Regions from separate parts of the Homo sapiens genome. Here regions 1, 2, 3, 4, 5 and 6 are each linked to region 7. Evidence: promoter capture Hi-C in 16 types of primary human blood cells and fetal thymus (Javierre and others, 2016). All regions are on one chromosome and are shown on one strand. Each heading gives the region's core, a stretch centred on a gene start or on the middle of the fragment in contact. The rest is flanking DNA. Distances are from core to core; before and after follow the strand shown.

The links. The method cuts DNA at HindIII sites, captures the fragments that hold promoters and counts their contacts. A CHiCAGO score of 5 or more calls a contact.
Region 1: a fragment that was not itself captured here is called in contact with the fragment with the promoter of ORC4 in region 7 in 9 of 17 cell types (neutrophils, fetal thymus, naive CD8 T cells and 6 more); the score reaches 10.4 in neutrophils.
Region 2: a fragment that was not itself captured here is called in contact with the fragment with the promoter of ORC4 in region 7 in 1 of 17 cell types (activated CD4 T cells); the score reaches 5.6 in activated CD4 T cells.
Region 3: a contact is called between a fragment that was not itself captured here and the fragment with the promoter of ORC4 in region 7, in 1 of 17 cell types (total CD8 T cells). The highest score is 7.4, in total CD8 T cells.
Region 4: a contact is called between a fragment that was not itself captured here and the fragment with the promoter of ORC4 in region 7, in 4 of 17 cell types (total B cells, naive CD4 T cells, non-activated CD4 T cells and 1 more). The highest score is 9.0, in total B cells.
Region 5: a fragment that was not itself captured here is called in contact with the fragment with the promoter of ORC4 in region 7 in 12 of 17 cell types (neutrophils, fetal thymus, non-activated CD4 T cells and 9 more); the score reaches 19.7 in neutrophils.
Region 6: a fragment that was not itself captured here is called in contact with the fragment with the promoter of ORC4 in region 7 in 2 of 17 cell types (fetal thymus and total CD4 T cells); the score reaches 6.2 in fetal thymus.

What each region holds. Positions count from the first base shown.
Region 1 is chr2:148,670,641-148,673,340 of GRCh38, forward strand. The region is part of intron 1 of EPC2 (enhancer of polycomb 2); the gene reads left to right. Among named protein-coding and RNA genes, the nearest start is that of EPC2, 27 kb to the left of the region's middle. The HindIII fragment of the contact is 7,570 bases long and covers 1-2,700 here.
Region 2 is chr2:148,584,426-148,587,125 of GRCh38, forward strand. No RefSeq gene overlaps it. Among named protein-coding and RNA genes, the nearest start is that of EPC2, 59 kb to the right of the region's middle. The HindIII fragment of the contact is 3,730 bases long and covers 1-2,700 here.
Region 3 is chr2:148,713,298-148,715,997 of GRCh38, forward strand. All of the region lies in intron 2 of EPC2 (enhancer of polycomb 2), which reads left to right. Among named protein-coding and RNA genes, the nearest start is that of EPC2, 70 kb to the left of the region's middle. The HindIII fragment of the contact is 2,733 bases long and covers 74-2,700 here.
Region 4 is chr2:148,621,280-148,623,979 of GRCh38, forward strand. No RefSeq gene overlaps it. Among named protein-coding and RNA genes, the nearest start is that of EPC2, 22 kb to the right of the region's middle. The HindIII fragment of the contact is 6,509 bases long and covers 1-2,700 here.
Region 5 is chr2:148,640,738-148,643,437 of GRCh38, forward strand. No RefSeq gene overlaps it. Among named protein-coding and RNA genes, the nearest start is that of EPC2, 2.7 kb to the right of the region's middle. The HindIII fragment of the contact is 1,811 bases long and covers 507-2,317 here.
Region 6 is chr2:148,694,017-148,696,716 of GRCh38, forward strand. The region is part of intron 2 of EPC2 (enhancer of polycomb 2); the gene reads left to right. Among named protein-coding and RNA genes, the nearest start is that of EPC2, 51 kb to the left of the region's middle. The HindIII fragment of the contact is 6,770 bases long and covers 1-2,700 here.
Region 7 is chr2:148,019,364-148,022,063 of GRCh38, forward strand. It overlaps ORC4 (origin recognition complex subunit 4), which reads right to left and starts at 1,374. Exons shown (of 14, transcript NM_181741.4): 1 at 1,270-1,374. It overlaps MBD5 (methyl-CpG binding domain protein 5), which reads left to right and starts at 1,728. Exons shown (of 14, transcript NM_001378120.1): 1 at 1,728-2,321. RefSeq lists enhancers at 1,019-1,616, 1,796-1,895 and a silencer at 1,286-1,445. The HindIII fragment of the contact is 3,631 bases long and covers 432-2,700 here.

The DNA.
Region 1 (2,700 bases), core at 120-2,619, 650 kb after region 7:
TGGAACTCTACAAACAGTATGCTTAGAAAAATTTCCTCTCCCCTCCTCTCCCTTGTCTATTCTCTCTCCTCTTCCCTGTCCCCTCCCTTCCCCTCGGTCTCACTCTGCTGCCCAGGCTAGAGTACAGTGGCAAGATTTCTGCAGCCTCAACTTCCAGGCTCAAGCAATCCTTCCACCTCAGCCTCCCAAGTAGCTGGCACGTGCCACCTATTTTTGTTTATTTTTTGTGGAGACTAGACATCAGTATGTTGCCCAGGCTTGTCTTGAACTCCTAGGCTAAGCAGTCTTCCTTTCTCATCTTCTGAAAGTGCTGGGATTACTGTGTGAGCCACTGCACCCAGCCCCTATTCTTTCTCATTCTTGACTAATACATGAACAATTTTTATGATGGTTTCTTGGGTACTTGGGAAGGAGGGGCCATTTGGGCATAAAGTCTGATATATAGGTTTAAGATCAACCTTATTAAGTTGCTTAGGTGTTCACTTGATTTGTTTTATGCTGATAGTGGTATATTAAAGTTTGCTGTTATTAGTGTGTTTTTATTTATTGGTACTTGCATATCTGGTAGCTTTTGCTTCATAAAATGTTTGCTTCATTACTTGCTGTAAAAATAATCATAAATGCTAAATCTCTATTGTGGATTGTGATTTTTTTTTTTTTTTTTTTTGTAGCATTAAAAAGTCATCTTTTTGGCTGGGCATGATGGCTCATGCCTGTAATCCCAGCACTTTGGGAGGCCGAGGCAGGCGGATCACTTGAGATCAGGAGTTTGAGACTGGCCTGGCCAACATGGTGAAACCCTGTCTCTACTAAAAATATAAAAATTAGTCAGGCATGGTGGTGTGCACCTGTAATCCCAGCTGCTCGGGAGGCTGAGGCAGGAGAATTGCCTGAACCTGGGAGGTGGGGGTTTCAGCGAGCTGAGATTGTGCCACTGCATTCCAGCCTGGGCAACAGAGCAAGACCCCATCCCCCCAAAAAAAGTCATCTTTTCTATGGTCATATTTAATTTTCTTTGGCTTGAATTCTACTTGTATTAGGATCTGCTTGCATTTCTTATTGTCTCCATTTACCTGGTAAACTTTTGTCCGTCCCTTTATTTTTACCCTTTCTTAACCATCTTTGAGTAAGCTCACAAAAATTCAGCTTATTCTATTTTTTCCTCTTCCTCCTTGCATTTTTAGTTGCATTATTTTCATTTAGAGGAGGAATTTTTTTTTTTGGTGTACAGTGTATAGTTGAGCCTTGGATTACAAGCCAAATTGAAAACCTTTTTGTTTTAGTAGGTGAGTTAAATTCATTCACATTTGTTGATATGCCTGAATATGTATGGGATATTGGCCTATAGTTTTCTTAAAGTATCTTTGAGTTTGAGAAGGATTTGTGTCCATCCTTCTTGAAATGTTTGGTAAAATTCTCCAGTGAAGCCATCTGGTCCTAGGCTTTTCTTTGTTGAGAGGTGTTTTGATTACTGACTCAGTCTTCTTAATTATAAGAAGTACTTAAAAGTAAGTCTTATAATTGTTATATATTACTGGTGAATTAACTCATTTGTCTTTATGTATCTTTATGTCTTTGATGGTTTTTGACTAAAGTCTCTTTTGTCTGATAGAAGTATGGACATCTCTGCTTTCTTTTGGTTACCATTTACATGGAATATCTTTTTCCATCTTTTCACTTTCAGGCTATGTTTGTCCTTATGTCTAAAGTGAATCTCTTGTAGATAGCATGTGGTCGGAGTCTTTTTGTTTTTCACGCCATTCATCTACTCTATCTCTCACATGCTGACTTCCCTTTGTGCTTCGTTGATTTTGTTTTTTATAGTGACATACTTTTATTTCTTTCATTAATTTTCTTGAAGGTATTTGTGGTGTGATCATCATGGGGATTACATAAAACATCTTACAGTGGCAACAGTCTAAAAACTTAAAAGCAATTTATTTTTGTATACAAAAACTATGCCTTTTGCTCACCACCGCTTAATATTATAGTGTCAAAATTATATTTTTTGTGTTTTGTATGCATTAACATAGTTTTTTAAAAATGTTTTTGTCTTTTAAGTTGTATACCAGAAATTAAAATAATTTGCATACCACTATTACAGTAGTATAGGTTCTCTATTTGCCTATATATTTACTTTTACCTAAGTTTTATATTTTTGCGTGGTTTCTTGTTGTTGTCTAGCATCCTTTTGTTTCAACTTGAAGGACTCCCTTTAGCAATTTTTATAGGAAGGGTCAGTAGCGATGAACTCCCTCAGTTTTTACTTATCTGGGAGGTTTTTATTTGTCTTTCATTTTTGAAGAACATTTTGTCAGATATATCATTCTGTTCTGACAGTTTTTTTCTCTCAGTCCTTTGGATATATTACTCTGTTTCCTGAGCTGTAACGTTTCTGCTGAGAAATGCACTGATAAATCTATGAGCTCTCCCTTGTACATGACAAGTTGTTTTTCTCTTACTTTCAAGATTCTCTGTCTTTGACTTTTGATAACTTGATTATAATTATTATAATGTTTCTCAGTGTGTGTGTTGTTGGGCTATTCTAGTTGGAGTCCTTTGAGCTTCCTGAATTTGGATGTCCATTTCCTTAATTGGATTTGGGAAATTTTTGCCATTATTTCTTCAAATAAGCTCTCTGTCCCTTCTCTCTCTAACCTTCTTAAGCTCCTATAATGTGTATATTGGTCCGCTTGATTG
Region 2 (2,700 bases), core at 142-2,641, 570 kb after region 7:
TGTGGCAGGCGCCTCTAGTCCCAGCTACTGGGGAGGCTGAGGCAGGAGAATGGCTCGAACCCAGGAAGCGGAGTTTGCAGTGAGCCGAGATTGCACCACTGCACTCCAGCCTGGGTGACAGAGCAAGACTCCGTCTCAAAAAAAAAAATTAAAAAAAAAAAAAGAAAAAACATTCTGTAAGTTTTTATAGTTATGTATTTATCTTAATACATAAAGTATATTTTATATATTAGGGAAAGTTACAACTAGATTTTTAGGGAAAGCTAGCACATCTTGCCCAGGATTTCATGGATATGATTATGAGAAAAATGCCACATTAACTTACCTTTTAAAAGGGGGTTGCTGTAAAGAACAAATACGGTATGAATGTCATTATTGTAGAACATACAGATAGTAAAGATGGTGAGAGTTATTTGCGAATAACTGAGGTTTTGGAAATAGTATTTAATCCAACACTAAAACTCACAACTGAGGAAACAAGCTCAGAAGAATCACCATGTTTCAGAGAATTTAAGATGCCATGGATCATAGGATGTGTCTTAATTTCTGAGATGCTAAAATGTGAGGAAATTTCAAGAATAAATGAAATATGAAAGTAGGTTACTCAAAATCAGACATCTAGGATTAAGAGTATTTATTTATTTTTATTTATTATTAGTTTTTGAGCCAGGGTCTCACTCTGTCACCCAGGCTGGACTGCAGTGGCACACTGCAGCCTCCACCTCCCAGGTTCAAGCAATCCTCCGTCTTAGCCCCCCAAGTAGCTGGGACTACAGATGCGCGCCACCACACCTGGCTAATTTTTGCCCAGGCTGGTCTCAAACTCCTGGACTCAAGCAATCTACCCACCTTGGTCTCTCAAAGTGCTGTGATTATAGGCATGAGCCACCACACCTGGCTGGATTAAGAATATTTAAAGGGTAATTTCTTCTCTAAGAACCTTTCTACTTTAATAGGTGATAAGTGTTCACCCAAAGGAATAACATTCTCAGGATGGAATTTCAGGCATTGCCTGTGGTGAAATAGTTTTGGGCAACAGCCCTTCCAAGGTCCCCTGAAGTCATCCTTGTAGAAGCTGCCTGTTCTCCTGTCAATGTCCTCCAGTCAAATATCACCAGGAACGCAGCTGTAAATGAACAAGTTGGGTTTACTACTCATTGCAGTGAGGGAGAACTGTGAAGCATCTCAGCTAGAAGTGTTTGAAAGGACATATGGTAGGATTTGGGCTTGAATTATGTGATTTTGAAAAAGGTTTGAGGAAGCTGGGCCTTGGTCTGGAATAGATGCTGTCGGGGAGCCAAGGCAATTCTATGATTTGGCGTCCTAATAAAACTTTGCTAGAGGGTGAGAGAAATGAAGGAAAGCTAAAGCTGGGATTAGTAAGGAAACAGCATTCACTCGTATTAGCCAGGGCAAAGGGATGTTTGGTTATTTTGGTGGTTTGGACAATGTTCATGTTTTTGTCCATATTCAGACATAAGAGAGTGGTCTCGTCTTTGTGTTGAGCCATCAGGATCACAGAGTGGCCTTATCTGATGTTAATGTTTATGAAATTGTTTATGTTCAACAGAATGAGACTTGGCTGTGAGTGCCATGTCAACCCCTGGATGTCAGGGCTGCTCTTCCTTCTCACACCCAGGCAGCTCTCTCCTAAACTGTCTTGCTCCATTTAGCAGAAGGGTGGTTACCAGAGGCTTGGAAGGGTAGTGGGGGCTTGAGGTGGGGAGGTGGAGATGGTTAATGGGTACAAAAAAAAAGAAAGAATGAATAACACCTAACATTTGATAACTTAATTGTACATTTTTAAATAACTAAACAAATGTAATTTGTTTGTAACACAAAGGATAAATGCTTGAGGGGATGGATACCTCATTCTCCATGATGTGCTTATTTCACATTGCATGCCTGTATCAGAACGTCTCATGTACCCCATAAATATTTACAGCTACTATGTACCCACAAAAATTAAAAATTTAAACATTTTTAAAAATTAAAATGAAAACAAAATGTCAGATGCAAATTGTCAGCAAGTTAAGAATTTTGTATAATGCTAATAAATGGAAGACCCAGACTTGGACTTTAGGATGGCAAATGCCTTTGTTTAACTCTGAAAGTAATGGCCCTGCTATTTTATCCTTCTAGAGAATGTGATCTTCAGCCATCCATGACAATCAATACTCTACTTCAGTAAAGGCAATAATCTGTGTGCTCATCAGTTCATCCTTCACCAGCCGTCTCACACATACCCTCTCTTTTTACATGACAAAGAGTAATTGCCCTACTGAGACTTCCCTGGGATTTCTTTGCTTGGTCAATAGCATTTACCGGTGGTGGCAGAGCAAGAAAAGTATCTTAGAAACAGAACTCTCTCAAGGCCTGTGATGCTAACGGCCACCACCTCCCAAGGCTAGAGGCATTATTAACTAGAGGTAAGCAGGAGGAAATGAAGGTAGATTAGTAGTTGCCAGGAGCTGGGGATAGGGAGTTTCCTTAGGGGTGATGAAAGCATTCTAGAATTAGATAGTGGTGATGGTTGCACAACCTTTTGAATGTACTAAAAATCACTGAATTGTACACTCAAATGGATACATTTTATTGAATTATATATCAATTAAAAAATTTTTTTAAAGAACTGAATAACAAGAGAGGTCAAATAACACTTCAGAAAGACTTATCTTATTGGTCATCGTTGGATTTCTT
Region 3 (2,700 bases), core at 190-2,689, 690 kb after region 7:
CCAGTGTAGGCCTAGGCTAATGGGTGTGTTTATGTCTTAGTTTTTGACACAAAAAAATTTATAAATAAGAAAAAGCTTATAGAATAAGAATTTACAGAAAATATTTTGTACAGCTGTATACTGTTTTAGCTGTGGTGTTACAAAAGAGACAAAAAGTTAAAAAGTAAAAGTTTATAAAGTGAAAAAGTTACAGTAAGCTGTTTATTATTAGAGAAAAAAAATTTTTTTTAAGTTTAGTGTAGCCTGAGTGTAGTCTACAACAGTGTAATGTCCTAAGCCTTTGCATTCAGTCACCCCTCAACTCACCTAGACAACTTGCCATCCTATAAGCTATATTTATGATGTGCCCTATACAGTATATACCATTTTTTATCTTTTATACCATAGTTCTACTGTACCTTATCTATGTTTAATGTTTAGATATACAGATACTTCCCATTATTTCACAGTTGCCTACACTAGCATGCTCTACAGGTTTGTAGCCTAGGAGCAATAGGCTACAGCATATAGCATAGGTTGTACCTTTAGGTTTGTGTAGGTACACTCTGTGATGTTCCCACAATGAATGAAATCATCTAACAGATGCATTTGTCAGAATGTTTCTTTTTTATTTCTTGATTGAGGGGTACATGTGCAGGATGTGCAGGTTTCTTGCCTAGTTAAACATGTGCCATGGTGATTAGCTGCACAGATCATTCCATCACCTAGGTATTAAGCCCAGAATCCATTAGCTGTTCTTCCAGATGCTCTCCCTCCTCCCACCCCCCACCCTCTGACAGGCCCCAGTGTGGGTCGTTCCCCCCATCCCCATGTGTCCATGTGTTCTCATCATTCAGCTCCCATTTCTAAGTGAGAACATGCAGTATTTGATTTTCTGTTTCTGTGTTAGTTTGCTAAGGATAATGGCTTCCAGCTCCATTCATGTCCCTGCAGAGGGCATGATCTCGTTCCTTTTTTTTTGGCCACATAACATTCTGTGGTGTGGATGTAGCACATTTGCATTAGCCAGTCTATCATCGATGGGCATTTAGGTTGATTCCATGTCTTTGGTATTGTGAATAGTGCTGCAGTGAACATGCATTCATGTATCTTTATAATAGAATGATTTATATTCCTTTGGGTATATACCAAGTAAGGGGATTGTTGAGTCAAATGGTATTTCTGCCTCTAGGTCTTTGAGGCATTGCCACACTGTCTTCCACAATGGTTGAACTAATTTACACTCCCACCAACAGTGTAAAAGCGTTCCTTTTCCTCCACAACCTTGCCAGCATCTGTTGTTTTTTGACTTTTTAATAATTGCCATTCTGACTGGTGTGAGATGGTACCTCATTGTGGTTTTGATTTGCATTTCTCTAATGATCAGTGGTGTTGAGCTTCTTTTCATGTTTGTTGGCCACATGAATGTCTTCTTTGGAGAAGTGTCTGTTCATGTCCTTTGACCACTTTTAATCAGGTTGTTTTTTTCTTGTAAATTTGTTTAAGTTCCTTGTAGATGCTGGAATATTACATCTTTGTCAGATGGGTAAGTTGCAAAAAGTTTCTCCCATTCTGTAGGTTGTCTGTTTACTCTGATGAGAGTTTCTTTTGCTGTGCATAAGCTCTTTAGTTTAATTAGATTCCATTTGTCAAGTTTTGCTTTTGTTGCAGTTGCTTTTGGCATCTTTGTCATGAAATCTTCGCCCATGCCTATATCCTGAATGGTATCGCCTAGATTTTCTTCTAGGGTTTTTTTTTTTTTTTTTTTTTTTTTGGAGACAGAGTCTTGCTCTGTTGCCTAGGCTGAAGTGCAGTGGCACGATCTCAGCTCACTGCAAGCTCCGCCTCCCAGGTTCACACCATTTTCCTGCCTCAGCCTCCTGAGTAGCTGGGACTACAGGCACGTGCCACCGCACCCGGCTACTTCTTTGTATTTTTAATAGAGACCAGGTTTCACCATGTTAGCCAGGATTATCTTGATCTCCTGACCTTGTGGTCTGCCCACCTCGGCCTCCCAAATTGCTGGGATTACAGGCGAGAGCCACTGCGCCCAGCCTCTTCTAGCGTTTTTATAGTTTTGGGTTTTCCATTTAAGTCTTTAATCATCTTGAATTGATTTTTGTTTTTGGTGTAAGGAAGGGGTCCAGTTTCAGTTTTCTGCATATGGCTAGCCAGTTTTCCGAGCACCATTTATTAAATAGGGAATTCTTTCCCCATTGCTTGTTTTTGTCAGGTTTGTTGGAGGTCAGGTGGTTGTATGTATGTGATCTTATTTCTGGGTTCTCTATTCTGTTCCATTCGTCTGTGTGTCTGTTCTTGTACTAATATCATGCTGTTTTGGTTACTATAGCCTTGTAGCATAGTTGAAGTCAGGTAGTATGATGCCTTCATGTTTGTTCTTTTTGCTTAGGATTGTCTTGGCTACTCGGGCTCTTTTTTGGTTCCATATGAATTTTAAAATAGTTTCTTCTAATTCTGTGAAGAATGTCAATGGTAGTTTAATGGGAATAGCATTGAATCTATAAATTGTTTTGGGCAGTGTGACCATTTTCACAATATTGATTCTTCCCACCCATGAACATGGAATGTTTTTCCATTTATTTGTGTCCTCTCTGATTTCTTTGAGCAGTGGTTTATAGTTCTCCTTGAAGAGGTCCCTCACTTCCCTTATTAGCTGTATTTCCAGGTATTTTATTATTTTTGTGGCAGTTGTGAATGTGA
Region 4 (2,700 bases), core at 157-2,656, 600 kb after region 7:
ACTTATGCAACCAATTGAGTCGCGCCCTGTAGACTGTACACTGCTTAGGACTGCTGACATTAGGCAGCCATCAGCACCCCTCTGCTGCAGGCCACACACGCATGATCTTACCACTTTATAATCACAAGGCATTTTGAACTGACGTTAGATTACCTGATTGTGACAAACTTGCTCATTGCAAATTGGACCTCAAAAGACTTTTATCTATAAATAAGTAAAACCTACCCTCAGAGGAAAAGAAGTTTGCCTTCTCAGCAATAAGCAAACAGTAAAAAGCATTTGCCACAGACTCAATAATTTAGATAGTATATGAAACTTTGCAAGGTTCTAAGATGAGAATACCAGAAGGGAGTCTATTCATTTATTTGTCTATTTGAAAGGTGTGATGTCTACTGTGGGTCAGTTGCTGAGATGAGTGTTGGAATATGGTGCTGAGCAAAACATACCCAGTCCCATCACTTGCAGAGCAAGACAAGACATTAGATAGTAAACATGCCAAGGAATATTTATTGAGATAAATGCAACGAAGGAGAAGAACAGGATGTATACAAACAGGAGAGACAGTCTAGGCCTCTATGAGTAGGACATATGGAAACAGACTTGAAGGGCGAGAAGGAGCCCATCATGTACAGCATGAGGGAAGGTGCTCCAGACCAGAAGGCATGGCTTATGTGAAGGTCCCGGGTCATCTCCTTTCTGGAGGATGAGACACATTCTGGGCACATGTAGCATAGTGGTCGAATCACAGGCTCAGAAGTCTGAATGCCTGGGTTCCAACCCCAGCTCCACCAGCAGGCTACCTGACCTTATGAAAGTCACTCAACCCTTGTCGTTCTTGGTATTTTCATCTATAAAACAGGAAAGGTAGTACTGTCTTACATATAGGTATGTTCACACGAGATAATTGATGCAAAGTGCTGGGCTTATAGGAAAAAATCCAATAAATATCAGTGATACAATATTGGTTTGCAGGAATTTGAGATAGTCGGCCTTGGCCAGGCTGATGTGCTCTTAACTTGGTTTAGCATCAGATCCCGGCAGCTTCTGGTTATGCTATAGGAATAGTATATATGCAGAGCCAAGATAGTGTCAAGAATTTCGAACAAGACTGGAAGAAATATATTGTTGAGAAAAGCAGTTATCACAACTTGGAATTCACACACATGCTAGGGCTAGAGTTTGCAGAAGGGGCTCATCAAAGGCACAAACACGTGGAGGCTGAGGTTATGAATGGGAAAGAGTGCCAAGCAGTGAGCAGGACAGATGGGAACATGGGCAACAGGCCCAGATCAGGACTCAAGAGATGATGGGACAGGCAGAAGCCAAGGCTTGATCTCAGACAGCAAGTACAGTCATCCCTAGTAGTCTTTGTTATCTTGAAAGGGAGTCTATTTGTAAGTGTGGCTGCCAACCCATTCCTTAATATTTGAGTCTATTAGTATGTTGAGCTGAGCTGTACTTCTTCGCCCATAAACCCTTCATATTACACTTGATGAAAGTGTTTTCTCTTCCTGGAAAATGGGGATGAGGGTAAAAGAGTTCACCTAGCCCTACATGCTAGCCTACAGAGGCTGGCATCTCTGAGTTCCCATGCTTTTTGTACTTTCCTCCTAGAAAAGGCTCTCTGTCCAGATGGCCATCTGTTCTTTGCTTCTGTAGCCTAAATTAAGGCTAGGATAACTTGGGGTCTCTATCCACTTTCTTCTTCAAATAAAATACTGGGATGCAACTTAAATCCTTTGTTAGGTGTTTTAGAAAATTCCAAAGGGAAAAGAATGTAATATTGAATGACACACAGTCAAACAACCTAACATTCCTTTTTACTCATCTATTGCCCCAAGGTCCCTCTCATCCTAACAGCAACTGCTTCTCTTACTCCCTCCCTCCCTGAAAAAAAAAACAAAAAAAAACAAAAAAACAAGGCTCAAACTTTCACTCATATCTCAGGCCATGGCTTTTTTTCTTTTTTTTTTAACTTCTGCCTCTTCTACTTCCTTCATAGCAAAATGAAAGAGAAGATTTATGATGGTATTGTGTGATCCTGTCACACCCCTAAAGGAGAGAGGTGGTGGTATAGTTAAGTTTTATTCCTTCAGTCTCTTTCCTGCAGCCATGCTCAAGAGTGTCACAGGGGGCTTGGAGGTTGGTGCTAGCCTAGTTTTTAGTCTGAGCCAATACAATGGCTAAGACTAAATTATCAAGTCTCTGAGACAGACATGTAGGATTTCTTTATGTTGCATCTACTTTATATACCATCTCCCAGTAAAAACACTATGTCCCAAATTCAATGCTATTTTACAAATTGTTGGTGTCAAGTCTGAAATAAGGTTGTGGTCCACCCTCTGAAAGTGGTACACAATGGACGTGCTGGATATTTTCTGCCACCCTCCCGTCTCCTGTTTCCATCCTTCTTCTCCTTTTCTTGGGCCCCCAAGGGACTCATCTTTGTGGACTGAATCAGCAGGCAATTTTGCCTGCTTCAGGACTTGATTGCTACCAATGAGGAGCAACAGCAGATGTGGGGGCCGGGGAGAGTGAAGAAGTTGGGCGTTGATTTATTTTCTGTGCTGTCTGACTGCCTGGTCACTGCATCCTTCTTCTGAAGGCCACAGCTCATTGCAGGCGGCCCACTTTATCTATATAGTTCATTCTCTCTCTCTCTCTCTCTCTCTCTCTCTCTCTCTCTCTCTCTCTCTCTCT
Region 5 (2,700 bases), core at 162-2,661, 620 kb after region 7:
TTCCAAATGTGGAGCACTGGTTGTGTTTTACGGTCCGGGTGGGGCAACAAATGAGACAGGCTGTCAGTGCAATTCAAAATTGGGTGTTGTGGACCCTCTGGAGCTGTGTGTTTTCAAATCTGTTTCTTTTTTTTTTAGTTACCAAAATGCAGAGCTTTCAGGCTGATTATTTTGGAGTCTATTTGGATCCTTTGTGGAGCTGGGAAGTAAATCGTCAGCTTATACACAAGGTGGCACCCTGTGATTCCAACCAGGTCTGAGAGGAGCGATGCTGCTAAGAAACTGAGCCACAGTCACAAATTTTTATTTACCATCTGCTATTCCCACGGTGGCAAATGCAGAGGTAGAAGTAGATGTTTGGCAGGTCACCTCTCAGTGTAGTCTCTGTCCCTATGTCTCAAAGATGCAGAGCTGCCTCAGAAAAGGGCACTGGAACCACAGAACTGATTCCAGTTGATTGTAATGAATGCAGACCCCACATTCAGATTACATATGGAAAACAACGAAGCTTTATTAGTACTAGGCTCATTCCTGGGAACATAAGGGGGAGGGGTGGAGATGCAGTTCACATACTAACCCAATTAACTTTCAAATGGTTTTGCTGAAACCAGGAGCCAATTAGAAAGAACGTGACATTTGCAAAACTCTGAAATAGTTGAATAGCAACTGTGTTTACTAGTTTTAAGATTCCTTTCAAAAAGTAATTTGTCCATTATTTGGAAGCTGCCTGCCTTGATTATAGTACTGGGAGATGGACACTGGAATGTAATCCTAATTCTAACAGTTATTTGACATTTATTCTAATTTAGACTACATTTAGACAGTGATTTTATTTTGATATGGCTTTAAACTGGTTTTAATTCTTGGGTGCTTATATATTATGCTTGCTGGGCTAAATGCATGTCATTTGGAATTGGTCTAGAGCATATCTGAAGTGGACTGATTTTAGAATGACTATACTTAGCGCATTGTATGTGGAAATTAAAATAGGCTATTAGGCTGCACACCCATTTGAGGCAGGTCTTGATAAAAATATTTCATGAGAGAATTTTTTATTTTATAAGAAGATATTTTTTGCTTTTAGCACTAACAATTATATGAGTATTCAACAAATCAATCAGAAATAAACTTTATGAAAAGTAATATTTATATACAAATAAAAGTTACTTTCCAAAAGTGAACAGTGGCATTCCGGTTTGGGCACTGAATTGGAAGCCAAGAAAACACAGGCTGTGTCTCCGTTGAAAAGTATATTGTGTTATTTGCCTTAAATGGTTTTATTCCCAGCTCTATAATCATTGCCTACAGGGTGAGAAGAAAATGGAGATTTGGGGAAGAAATCTTTTACATGGTCAAAGTAAAAGAACAACAAAGAAACAACCACAACAGCAAAAATCCCTTCCTATAAATTCCAGGTTTCAAAAAGGTGTTTTTGAATAACATTAATTGGTTCTAAAATCTCTATGCACAAAGGTACAAAGCTGGACAACAGGGTAGGCCACAGTAAGAACAAATATTGGCAGCAATAGCTAGGTCAGGTGACAGGCCAGTGAGGTATGTGAACTATAAACTAGAGTGGCATGGGGTCAGTATCAGTGAATTTCTTCATGGAATATCAGTCAACAAATATACTTTAGATGCCTGCCATATGTGAGGCATGGAACTGGGGATACAGTGATTGACAGACAGATGTTGTTCCTGCCCTCCTTGGTCTACTGCAACTTTAGGCTCTGGCTTATGCGCTCCCTTGGCCGTTGGTTGGAAGGTCTTAGTAACTAATTTTGAATTAGCAGCTTTAGAATGCTGACTGGTCAATAAGCTGAAGAGCTTGGATAGCAGGGTAGCACCACTGAGAAAACCAGAGTTTTGGAGTCAGGTCAGACCTGAATTTGAGCCCAGTTCTGCAAGTTGTTGGAATTGAAATTTGGCAAATTATCTGATGCTCAGTTTTCTTATTGGTAAAATTATATTTTTTCATAAAATTATAATAAGAATTAAGTGGAATTCAACTAGTTGAGATAATATATATAACATGTTACTACAATGGATGGTATATTACACATACTTGATATTTCCTTTTCTGAGAGAAACAGTAAAACTAAACATAGGGACTAGAAGAAAGCTATCCTTTCTGAACCTGAGGAGGGCTGGGCATCCAGATGAAAGCTCTGGATGACTCATTTCTTCAACTATTGCTTTTTTCTTCCCTTTCAGGCTTGAACCCAGTGCTGACCCCCTCCCAAGAACTTCTTGTTCTTGCTTCCAGAGGATTGGAACTGTTCCAGGGGTAGCACTTAGAGAGCAGGACATGCCCATAAGCTTGAGGAAGGTACTGCTTACAAGAAATGAGTCACAGCAACTCCATTGCTTCCAACAACAAAGTGGATGAAAAACACTCAAGCCCCACTAAACAATACTCGGAGTTTTGCTGCGACAGACTGGTTAGACTATTTGGACACTACCATGAAGACTATATCCACCATTCTGCCTTCAAAGGAGGAGACTGCAGAGAGAAAAGGGGAAGAGGAACAGGAGGAAAAAGGGGGAGGGGAGGAAGTGGAGGAGGGGAAGAAGGACGTAATAGAGGAAGAGATATAGTTTTATTGTCACATAGAAATGACAGTAGGAATCAATTTTTTCACTGTTGGTCTTTAGGAAATCATCTGACTTTCTCTGAGTTAGAGTATGATCGATTATTAG
Region 6 (2,700 bases), core at 41-2,540, 670 kb after region 7:
TTATAGCATGTGGTTAGGTGTGCAGTTAAATATTTGCTGAATAAATAAATGAGTGAAAGAATTAATGAAATTAAAAGCATATACTCCATGGCATTTTCGAGCCATCAGTATTTGTTGGACTAAAAATTGTACACAGAATCAAATATAAGGCTAAAATTATTAGTGCATACAGTGAAATTGAGCAACCCGCTGTGTTAGAAATTAAAAGGTGAGTTCTGTTATTCACCAACTGTTAATTTAGCCCAAAAAGTGCCGAGAAGGAGTTGGGAGTGGACTCCAATCTGTTATGAAAGTGAGACAAACATTCTTGTTCCTTCTGATCCCTTTCAGTAGCAGTTCTTCATAGTCACCCTTAATCAGCTTTATGCAGAATTTATTGAATCATAACACATTGAGCTGTCTTTACCAGGTGGGAAGCATCCTGAAGGCACAAAGTCTTTGATGACCTAAGATAGTAAAACACTTCAGTTGTGTGCCACATGCAGAAAAAAACACTACCTACTTTCATTAAGTTACATTTACTTTGGGTTCCTCAACCCAAATGTTATAATTTTCATTCCTCTTGGAGTTCAATAATTTTATTAAATTCAGTACCCAAACTTTTCTCTTTAAGGAAACAACTTTGTTTACATTTCAATAGTATCTTTATTTGATCTCCTATTACCTGTTTTATTTAATATGATAACATTTTACAGTTGATACTAAATATCTTGGAATTGTAGAACACGAAGGAACTTAACATTCTCCTCCCCCCGCCCAAACCCTGGTGACGGAATCTTGCTCTGTTGCCCAGGCTGGAGTGCAGTGGTGCAATATCTGCTCACCACAACCTTCCTCACCGCCCCCACCAGGTTTAAGCAATTCCTCTGCCTCAGCCTCCAGAGTAGCTGGGATCACGGGTGCGTGCCACCACGCCCGGCTAATTTTTGTATTTTTAGTAGAGATAGGGTTTCACCATGTTGGCCAGGCTTATCTTGGACTCCTGGCCTCATGATCCGTGATCTGCCCACCTTGGCCTCCTAAAGTGTTGGGATTACAGGCGTGAGCCATCGCACCAGCCTGACATTGTTTCTTAAGTATTCTGAAGTTAATTTGTATCCAGTTTTGAACTCAGTTAAATAGTTCTTGGTAGCAGGACTCTCTTTTCTTATTTTGAAATGAAAGTTTACTTCCCCCATCTCATTCCCTTAGTCTTACAAACATAGAACAGTAGACGGTCCTGACTGAAAGAAGAGTTCAGGAGAAAGGATAGGTGGAGTAATAACTTGTCATCTGTCAGGCAGAGAGAGGAATGCACTCAAAGGGAATTGAAATGTACCGTTTGTGTCTGCTTCCAAGATTTTAAGCCCTAGCAAAATGCCTGTGTGTGGACACTGCTGTACACTTCTGTACAACTTGAAGCTGACTCCTCAGACTGATAAAGCTGACTGTTGTCAAGTCTACATTGGAAAAGAGAAAAAGTTACACTTACCAACATAAAGTGGACCTGTGTATACCACTAGGTTTTTCAGCATGGTTAAAATAGATGCTGGCCTGACATCCAACTTCAGTCTCATTATCCTTGGAAATGTCTTTTGATATTCTCTGCATTATGCAAAAAATGATAATTGACCTGTTCTTTCAGGGCAAACATATTTTGATTGGAAAGAGTTGGGGAGGATTCAGAACAAATGAAGAGCATTGTTTTGTTTATACAGTAAGACTTATTGGTAGAAAGGATGCATTCCAGGAACATCATTTTCTTGTAAAAAAAATACTATTGGATGTGTATTAAGAAATTGGACATAAATTCTGTGAAAGGACATCACATATTCAAATAAATAAAGACTGGTAAAACAATGCCATGGGTACAGAAGCAGATTTTGTCAGATTTGTGGAGAACACATTACAGGTGAAGCTGGATCTCAATTTCAGGTGATTAGAAGGGACAGGGAATAAGGCCAGCCCCTGAGGGCAACCCACATTCAGATCAGCTAGCTCTAAGGATATTCCTCTCTCCTCAGATTGTGCACTAGCTGCAACCGTGTCCTATTCTTGGGCAAAGCTGTGAGTGTGGACATGGGCTGAAATGGTAGAGTTGTATCTGGGTAGGTACTAATCCAGGAAGGAGGAGAAGCCTCCAAACCTAGAAGATAATAGATATGAAAGGAGGCCAGGCACAGTGGCTCACACCTGTTATCCCAGCACTTTGGGAGGCCAGTGTGGGAGGATCACTTGAGTCCAGAAGTTGAAAACTAGTTTGGACAACACAGTGAGACCTTGTCACTACAGGAGAAAAAAAAGGTAATGCCAGACATTGTGTGAAAAGCAAACTAATCATTGGGTAGTCTGAGATAAATGAAAGAGAAGCCTGAGTTTAAAGGAGAACGCCCCTTCAGGCTATGTGCATTTATTTATGTCCACTTTTCAAAAAAGAAAAAAAGGCATTTGCAGTGACTTAGAGTAAAATACAATGCAATAAATTAAAGACCATGGTTAAAGAAATCAGGGAGAGAATAAAGACACTATAATAAGGTAAATTTGATGTATAGTGGCACATATTTTAGCCATGATGTGATTACAAAATATAAAAGCAGTATTGGTCATAAAGGGTGCATGATTCTTGGTCTTCAAGCATTTTGAACCCTCCTATGGGGCCTCCCAAAGAAGATACCCTGAGGTAACTCAGCAGAACTGATTGTGTTAGGAGGAGTTACCAAA
Region 7 (2,700 bases), core at 124-2,623:
AGGATCATTTGAGGTCAAGAGATCGAGACCAGCCTGACCAACATGGTGAAACCCCGTCCCTACTGAAAACACAAAAAAATTAGCCAGGCGTGGTGGCACATGCCTGTAGTTTCAGCTACTCGGGAGGGTGAGGCAGGAGAACTGCTTGAACCCAGGAGACAGAGGTTGCAGTGAGCCGAGATCGCGCCACTGCACTCGTCTGGGAGACAGAGCGAGACTCCGTCTCAAAACAAAAAACAAACAAAAAGAACCCACCCAACAGAATTAAGTACCAACATAATAAATACGAAGAATTTTAGATTCTTGGTTTTTAAAAAACATACAAAGATGATATTCCTTCAAAATATCTTTACAAAACATATTGAGACTGTGATGCTTTATATTGATTGTATGAAAACAATGAAAAAGAACCAGCACTGTTTCACTATAAAAGCTTTACTAATGTAAATTTATAAATCCTTTCTTAAATATTTTGAGTTAATTCTAATTTTATGATAGAAATTCATTATTTTCAGCAAAAACAGCTGGCATTTGGGAAACCAAAGGCTCAAAAACTAAGAATAGTAACCAAAGAAACTTGACAAAACAGTCCTTTTAAAACTCTCATCTACACTATAAGGGGAAACTTTGATCACGTCCCTTCTCCTTCATCAATCGTAGAACTCAACATTAAGGACTACACAATCCCACATCCCTCTCCGAGAAAAAGCAAAGGCTTTGTGTTGTAGCAACAACGCAAGACATGGAGGGAAGCTCCACTCAAGACTTCCCTGCCTGCTCCTTCCCCAAAGCCACTCCAGAATACCAGGGAGGGTTGAGAGGTAAGGCATGAAGGGCGCAATATCCAATATGAGCAACGCGTGTGATGCATCTGGTCAAAATGCATACAGAGGACTTGTCTCTGTCCCTAGATAGAAGTCCTCCGTCCTGCAGTCATGAGGGTCAATTGCTGAGGCTTCACAGTTCCCTTCTCTCTTACACTCGGACCGTCACGCTCCTCACCTACTACCCCGATGCAGAGGTAGACTCAGGATCCCTGCACTTGTCAAGGATTCCTCGGCAAGCTCACGGGGCGGGAGTGGCCACAAGACGGAGCTCGCCTGGTCCTGGCCTTCCCGGCCTATACAAGCCTGCCCCCTTCCCAATTCCCAATCTCCACAGCCTTCCATCCTCCCACTTTCGATTCACCTTGCGCCACCGACGCCCCTGGCCTTCGTTTGCAGCAAGTTTACCCCCACCATTACCTCTCGCATAAAAGCCTGCATTTACCAGGTCAAAGAGGGGAACCAACGCCTGCAGGAATCGCTTCACCGAATCGCCTGGCCGCGTCCTCTGCTAGACTTCACCTGCCGCTGCGGACCGTACACAACCACTCCCGGCATGCCCCGCGCACGCACTACCTCTCCCACCCCGCCCCTCTCCCGCCCAAACACGTGACCTCCTTTCGTCTCCGTCCACGCCCACTTCCGTTCCTCCACTTTCCCTTAGGAAGGAGGAGGGAGCTGGGGGTGTTAAAAGCGTAGCGACTTCCTCCTCCTCCCCGCCCCCGCTCCTGTACCTCCCGCTACAATGTCTTCCGGGTCGCTAGCGCCTCGACGCCTTCTGGGAAAATAGCTCATTTCCTCCCCTCCCCCTCCTCCTGCCTTCAACCAACCAGCCACCCGTCAGAGAGGGACATGCGCAGTGAGTGCCTCCCGTCTCTTCTACCCGAACCCCCCCTCCCCCCCAAGCAGAGAGACCCCAGCAGCAGCAGCAGCTGATGATGAAGAGAGAGGCAGTGGCAGAGGGGGGGCACCTTTTATTTCTATTTTTAAAGGGACAGGACACTAATTCTACCCCACTTCAACCTTGAATTCAGGGGGGTGGGGGGAAGGCGGCTGAGTTCCTTCCCCCACCCTCCAGCCCTGAGCCCTGAGAGGGGGATTGAGCCTGAGAGAGGAGAAGGAGTTTCTTCTTCTTCGAAAACCCCCATCCACGACTCCTACCCCCTCACCCCTCCAACTCGCCTCCCTCCCTCCACCCTCCTCCTCTTTGGCCGTGAGAGGAGGAGAGAAAGAAACCAAAAGCCTCTTAGCAACACAGACCCTTTGCTGCTGCTGTTGCTGCTGCTGCTGCTGTTGCTGCTGCTGCTGCTACTGCTGCTGCTGCTACTGCTGCTGCTTGGCCCTGGCTGGAGACATCTCACTACACCCAGGAGCAGCCACTTCCCCAGCTCTCCTCCTCCTCCTTCGCCTCCTCCTCCTCCACTCCCCCCCTTTATTACCCTTTGTGTCATCCTCCACAGCTCCAGGGAAGGCACTCAAAAGTGGGGGGCAGGAAAGGTAAGTGTGTCTGTGGGGGCTTCATTGCCTTCCTCTGGCTCTGACTTTCACTCCGGGGCAACAGTAGCACCAAACCACATACGCAGTGGAGCTCCGGGGTGAGGAGGGGGTGGTGCTGGGGGGGGTGAAGGAGGGGTTGGAGTAGGGAGGGGTGTGTGAGGTGGGGTGCCCATCCTGTCAGGGGAGGAAGGGCACTTTTATTTTTATTTGCTGTTGTCAAAAGTGGTTTCTCTCCTCCATCTAACATCTGATTGTGTCTTGCTCCAGTGGGGGAGAATACAAAAACAACCCCCTCCTTCCTCCAATGAGGCGCCAGGGAAAGAGACAGAAAGAGGCACACTTTCTAGATGTCACTTAAAAAAAATTCATTGGAGAGCTC